Linked DNA regions of Homo sapiens: region 2 is linked to region 1. Evidence: promoter capture Hi-C in human tissues and cell types (Jung and others, 2019). All regions are on one chromosome and are shown on one strand. The core of a region is centred on a gene start or on the middle of the fragment in contact, and the rest is flanking DNA. Distances in the headings are between cores, read along the strand shown. Region 1 holds the start of COG1 (component of oligomeric golgi complex 1). Region 2 has its middle 7.5 kb from the start of SOX9.

Evidence for each region. Contacts are between HindIII fragments. The study calls those that stand out against the background at their distance.
Region 2: a fragment that was not itself captured here is called in contact with the fragment with the promoter of COG1 in region 1 in 1 of the 25 tissues and cell types used here (neural progenitor cells).

Annotation. Positions count from the first base shown.
Region 1 is chr17:73,191,233-73,194,517 of GRCh38, forward strand. COG1 (component of oligomeric golgi complex 1) reads left to right here and starts at 1,823. Exons shown (of 14, transcript NM_018714.3): 1 at 1,823-2,152. The coding sequence starts at 1,838. RefSeq lists enhancers at 1,050-1,809, 1,095-1,144, 1,775-2,054 and a silencer at 2,105-2,314. The HindIII fragment of the contact is 14,916 bases long and covers 1-3,285 here.
Region 2 is chr17:72,126,885-72,130,169 of GRCh38, forward strand. No RefSeq gene overlaps it. Among named protein-coding and RNA genes, the nearest start is that of SOX9, 7.5 kb to the left of the region's middle. The HindIII fragment of the contact is 5,610 bases long and covers 1-3,285 here.

The DNA of each region.
Region 1 (3,285 bases), core at 573-3,072:
CGCCTGCCTCGGCCTCCCAAAGTGCTGGGATTACAGGCATGAGCCACCCGGCGCGCGCCCCTTTTTTTGTATTTTTTTGTAAGGACGGGGTTTGGCCGTGTTGCCCAGGCTGGTCTTGAACTCCTGGGCTCAAGGGATCCACACGCCTTGGGCTCCCAAAGTGCTGGGATTACAGCCTGCTTCTTAATGTCACTAACTCTTCACCCAAGTCCTAGGCGCTTGTGCCTGCTGTGCCAGTCCCAGGCCGCAGGCTGGCACCGTAGCTATAAAGGGCGCCAGAAAAAAAGATTTTGCTAGATAGCGATGAATTCCCCAATCACAGAAAGGAGATACTGCGGATGCTTATCAGCCGAATACCAGTAAGTGTCCCTTGCAGAATGGGATTAGAGACTGCAAACTGCAGGCCTGCCAACAGAGGGTGCTCTGTGGGAAATTATGTGAAAACGTAGAAAAGAGCGCGAGCCAGTAATTTAAAAATCGACGTCCAAATACTCACTGGGTCACCTATCAGCTATGTAATTTGGGCAGGTAAATAAGCTTTTGTTTCTTTTTTTTTTTTCCTCATAAATGGACTAGGAATATTACTCCTACCTACCTGGCATGGCCGATGTGCGAGAAAATGAGATAATCTCGTGGACAGGCTCTGAAAACTGCACTTTTACTGAGTAAAAAACCCTTTGCCTCTCCGGGCCCCCGTTTCCCCATCTGTAAAATGAGTCTGTAAAGTGAGAATGATACTCCCTACGCCGCAAGGCTCTTGCGGGTTAAACTGGAATATTATAAATGCACCATTTATTTGCAGATTGAAATTCTGTGCGTCCGGAGGTGGCGGGTGGGAGAGGGAATGAGCAGGGATGCAGGGTAGGCCCTGAGTTGCTGGGGGCTCAGCATGGCCGCTGCGCACATTGCATCATTTTGTCGACACTGGTGTGGGTGAAATCTTCCAAAAGAAATTAAAACAGAAAAAAAAAAAAAGAAGGGTCTGGGACTTAGCAGAAACAAGCCACAATCTCCAGATTCTACTATTCCTGGGCCACGTGAGGAGCGCCCACCCGTCTGGCGCTGCGTTCCCCGGGGCGTCCCAGCCTCTCCCGCCCAGCCCGCCGCCCTCCTCCCCCATGGCCACCAAGGTCAGGCTCTCGCAGGGAAAACGTCTTCAGGGGCTAAACATCGGTTTTAAACGAAATGGAAAACCTCCAACACGAATCAACAGCAGAGGAAAAGCAGACGCCAAACAAGCGCTCAGAACCCCTTCAGGGGCGGCGTGGTAGCTCTTCCCGGGGAACAGCGAGGGGCGCGGATGTCCCTCTTCCTAAAACTGCACGCGGGGTGCGATCCGAGACCCAGCGGCGGCGAGCGCGCCCGAGTCTGCTCGCGGGCGCCAGGCGCGCGGAGAGCGGCGGCTGCGCCTGCGCCAACGCCGTCAGTCCGCGGGGCCCGATCCCGACACCTAACTCCACAGAGAAGCTCTGCTCCTAAGGGAAAGGGAAGACTTCAGCCACAGTTTCGCAGCCAACCTGGCGACCTCACCTCTCTGGCGACCTCACTTCCCAGCCGGCTCCGTTTAAGAAAACCCCGCGCAGGACCGCGCCCGCCCCCGCGCCCGCGCCCGCCCCCGCCCCCTCGCGCCCGCCCCCTCGCGCCCGCCCCCTCGCGCCCGCCCCCTCGCGCCCGCCCCCTCGCGCCCGCCCCCTCGCGCCCGCCCCCTCGCGCCCGCCCCCTCGGGTAACAAACATGGCCCCCGGCGGGGCGGAAGCGCTTCCGCCCCCAACGAAGATGGCGGAGGGGGCGGGACTAAAAGGGCGTAGGTAGATCGCCGGGGGCTGACGAGTGCACCATGGCCACCGCGGCAACCTCACCCGCGCTGAAGCGGCTGGATCTGCGCGACCCTGCGGCTCTTTTCGAGACGCATGGAGCGGAGGAGATCCGCGGGCTGGAGCGCCAGGTTCGGGCCGAGATCGAGCACAAGAAGGAGGAGCTGCGGCAGATGGTGGGCGAACGGTACCGCGACCTGATCGAGGCGGCCGACACCATCGGCCAGATGCGCCGCTGCGCCGTGGGGCTAGTGGACGCCGTGAAGGCCACCGACCAGTACTGCGCCCGCCTCCGCCAGGCCGGCTCGGCCGCGCCCCGGCCACCGCGGGCCCAGCAGGTCAGTCCCCGTGCCCCCACCCTGCGACCCGCAGGCGGGTCCCGGAGCCCCTGGCCTTGCAGGTCAACCCCGCCCCCCTCTGTCAGTCCCAGACCCCGCGAGTCCTCACCTTCCTTAGCCAGGAGCCTATCCGCCCCTCACCCTTTGGGCCCCCCTCAGAGGACAGTGCCAGCCTTCCTTGCACATATGCGGCTGCTGATCCGTTCTGGAAATGCCATTCAACAGTTTCTTCAGGCGCTTTCCCCCGACTTCCGGGCCTTGATTCCTACACCTCACTGGGCTCCTTTCAATTTTAGCGGAAAACGCCAGGAGTTTCTGTCTTGACAGTTCAACGCTCACCTATATAACATGTCCTGACATTGTTTTTCCTCAGGTTTCTCCCCTATGTTGACACCTGCACTCCAAGTCATTTCTTCCTCATCCCAACCTTCCCCTTATCTCCCCAAGAATAACTTCCACAACCCCAAATAGCTGTTCTACCCTTTGGGAGTTGTTGAGGGTACCAGCTATCAAGCCCTTAACTTTATGTATGTATGTGACAGGGTCTCCCAAAGTGCTGGGATTACAGTCATGAGCCACCACAGCCGGCCAAGCCCTTACCTTTTAATAGCTGAACATTTTCATTTTCAGAACTAAGGCTTTTTTCATTCAGGTTCTCCTTATCCCGTGTTCTTCCCCCCAAACGCTATTGATTAGACACAATGAGGAAGGATGGGAGGTAAACAAACACATCCTCATATTGGAGCTGCAGCTTGCGTTCCTAAAGAATTTTTATTGGCCGGGTGCGGTGGCTCACGCCTGTAATCCCAGCACTTTGGGAGGCCGAGGCGGGTGGATCACGAGGTCAGGAGATCCAGACCATCCTGGCTAACACGGTGAAACCCCGTCTCTACTAAAAATACACAAAATTAGCCAGGCGTGGTGGCCGGCGCCTGTAGTCCCAGCTACCTGGGAGGCTGAGGCAGGAGAATGGCATGAACCCGGGAGGCGGAGCTTGCAGTGAGCCGAGATCGCGCCACTGCACTCCAGCCTGGGCCACAGAGCGAGACTCTGTCTCAAAAAAAAAAAAAAAAAGAATTTTTATTTCTTTATTTTTTGAGACAGGATCTCGCTCTGTCACCCAGGCTGGAGTG
Region 2 (3,285 bases), core at 399-2,898, 1.1 Mb before region 1:
AATCAGTGTCTACAGGGAACCAGAGAGAAGCCTGTCGTATTAACCCATTAAATGATTCAGAGCCTTCCAGATTTCTCTGTAGAGACAATGAAAGGGGATGATTTTTCTGCTCCCTCCAGTTTAACTCATTCTAAGCAGACGCAAAGCCATTGTAGAAGAAACAAGACCTAATCCTGTTTTCCTTGGCCCCAGTTAGATGGGGAGTTTCCAGGTTCAGAGAAACGTTCAGGTCATTTTTCATTAAATAGATGAAATCACTCCTTCCCTCACATGGGCACACCTCCCCATCCCCACTCCCACACCCCAGATGATTGGAGAAGTGTCTCTAAAGAGTCAGTCACCTTCACCCTCTCAGGCTAGTTTTACTACTGGGCCTGTGTCTCTGGCAGTCTTAACCAGAGTCCAACCTCTCTGGCATTACCTCACATTGTCTGTTTCTGCTTATTGGATTCCTGGCTGACATCCCACACCAGGAACATGGCAACCAGGAAAATGGTAGTTATCAAATCGAGGCAACATTAGTACTCGGCCTCCTTTGCAAATTCCTTCGACAAACATTGATTGAGGGCCTGTGATCTGCGGGGGACTGTGCAAATCCTTCCCTACCCCTTCAGACATCAAATTCTGTTCCTTGTTTGTGACATAGCCTTCCATGCGCTGAGGCCCTCCCTTCTTACAAAATCTCTATTTTTTTTTTCTCTTGCCAACACTCACAAAGTCCTTTTTAAAAGTCTCTGTGGTGTTCACTAATTCTTGCCTACCTTATTCGTTCTAATCCCTTTGTCTATTAAAATCAACACACACCATTCCACTGCGACTACCCCCTTCCCTAGCAAATCTGTATGTTTGCTAGACTGTTCTCCCTTCCAGAAATATGCTCTTTTTCCCAGTATGTGGCCTTTGCCAGGACTTCTTGAAGCCAAAATATTCTGTTCGGACATAAACTTGTGAAGGGAACTGAAGCAAGTTGTTTTGCTTTCCCGTGCCTCACTTTCCCCTTTTGCTGAGTATGTTTATAATTCCTCCTACATAGAGCAGGGTTGTTAATAGAGGAGATTTTAGCCAGAGCAATCTGGGAGTTGACTGCATTGGAGTCTCCTGGTCTGTACAGCAGTCCCCCTGCATTAGAATTCCTGGGAGTAATAGCCAGGAAAAAGAGTTTCATAAGCTCCCCAAGTGGCTCTGATACACAGTAAAATGCAAGAGACACAGGAGTGCTGGGAGAGAATTCCTCAGAATCCCGCTCACCCCCATATCTATCAGATCTAGTCAAAGCCCAATATCACCAGATTATAAAATATTTTGGAGGAATTTTTAGTCTAACACCAGAAGCACAGAGCTTATCACCCTGGCAACAGCAACACATTGACTGGAAACCTAGGAGAGTCCTCCACACCGGAAAGAGTTTGTATGTAGATCCAGGGTTATTTGTTTGTTTGCACTTAAAATAAAACCTTTTCTTTTCTAACCATTTTAACAAAACTGAAATTTTTAGCAAAAGGGAATAAAAATAAACTCATTTAAGAATCGGTCTTTTGCTCTATTATTAAATTAGAGCCATGGGGATTCACTGGAGCTGTTTGACTTTCCCACTTCAGCTCCATCCCATCCCTTTCCTTCCCTGATTTCCAAAATGAACGTTTGTGAGGCAGCATGGTGGCACGTTTATATTAAAGTAATCGATGAACTATCACTACAGCCAGAGATGGATTTACTATGAAGCAAACAAAGCTCAAGCTTCAGCACCTCTCAAAAGCACAGGCTCCTTTTAAGGCTCTGGACTTATTCTTGAATTTTTAAAATTTAAATTCTTTTTCTTAAAGAACTTCGCCTCAAAAAAAAAAAAAAAAAAACCATAAACTTCATGCCACACAAAAGCTGGATCTGCCCCTGATCACACCTATTGGCCAGTAAACTGAAGCATTAGAGGCTGCCATAGAAGATAGCAGAATACATTTCTTTCTGTTCTCAACAGTGCCTGAAACATAGTAGGTGCTAAACAAATATCTACCTTCCATCGTATCCATGAACGTGACGGTATTGCCAAAGAACACACTGGAATCTCTGCAATAACACTCTACCACTTGTCCTTACACAGTTTCTCATCCCTCTGAGAGTCAAATGAATTTTTGCTTCTCAAATGACATTCACTTACGGGCATAAGACAGGTTTCTTGCACACAAGAAATGCAATGACCTGCCCTCCTATTCTTTCCCTTTCCTCTTCCTGCTCATTCCTTTTTTTCTTTTCTTTGCCATCTCTCCTCTGCATTTTCTCAGTCTCCCCTTGACTCTGACAGCTGAAAACTTTGCTGGGCCCTGATTGAGCTTTTCCTCTTTTATCAAGCACAGACTAGAACTATTTTACTCCGAATTTCTGGAGAATCGTTCTTTTTTGACCAGATACAACATGGGCCAGGTAATCTCAGAAAACAACCAGGCTAAATTTGGGGCAATAGTTCCTTGAAGCTATTGTTAGACATGTCCCTTGAGCATTCAGGATTTTATATGGAGGTTCATCTGATCACCATTATTTCCCACTGTCATATTCCACTCTAGAATTATTCCCACTCCTCATTCTTGCCATAAATATTTGATTAGGACGCAACCATGAACAAGAAAGACTGCCTCATGGAGCTTACATTTTCATGAAGAGGAGGCGGGCGCAAATAAATAGTACTTCCTGGTCTTTCCTTGTTTGCATGCCATAGGGGAAAAAATGCAACTCATTAGAGCCAACTGGGAGAACAGGCACAGGGAAGGAGGAGTTGATGGATTTGGAAATGGTTTTGGTGAGAACATGCTGAGTTCATTTTTCCTCTCCTGATCTTCATCTCTTTTTCAGTGATATAAAATTGACTCCATTTACATAAAGGGAACCCACTCTATTTTTACCTTAGCCACTCCCTCCTGCCCCTCTGCCCCACCCCCCAGTAACCCTCTATTAGTCTCTCTACCTCTTAATGAACCATGGATTCATGGATCTCACAATCCTCTTTATAGCAGAGATCCCAAGAGAAAAATCCAGTCCCTAGTATCCAAAGGGCCTTTTGATCTCTACAGATTTGGTTAATGTACCCTGCAGATATGAGGAAGGAATCAGAAATGAGGAAGGTATAAAGAAAGGTCTTTTAATTTATTTGTGTTTGCATTGCAAAAATCTCTTATACATTATCTCAGCTATTGAATACTCCTCCATTGCCTCCAGAATACCTGCATGGATTGAGAGCTCACATCCACCATGGAGATCTTTAATTGTGGAAAAATCTTACCTCTGCAGTTTCCA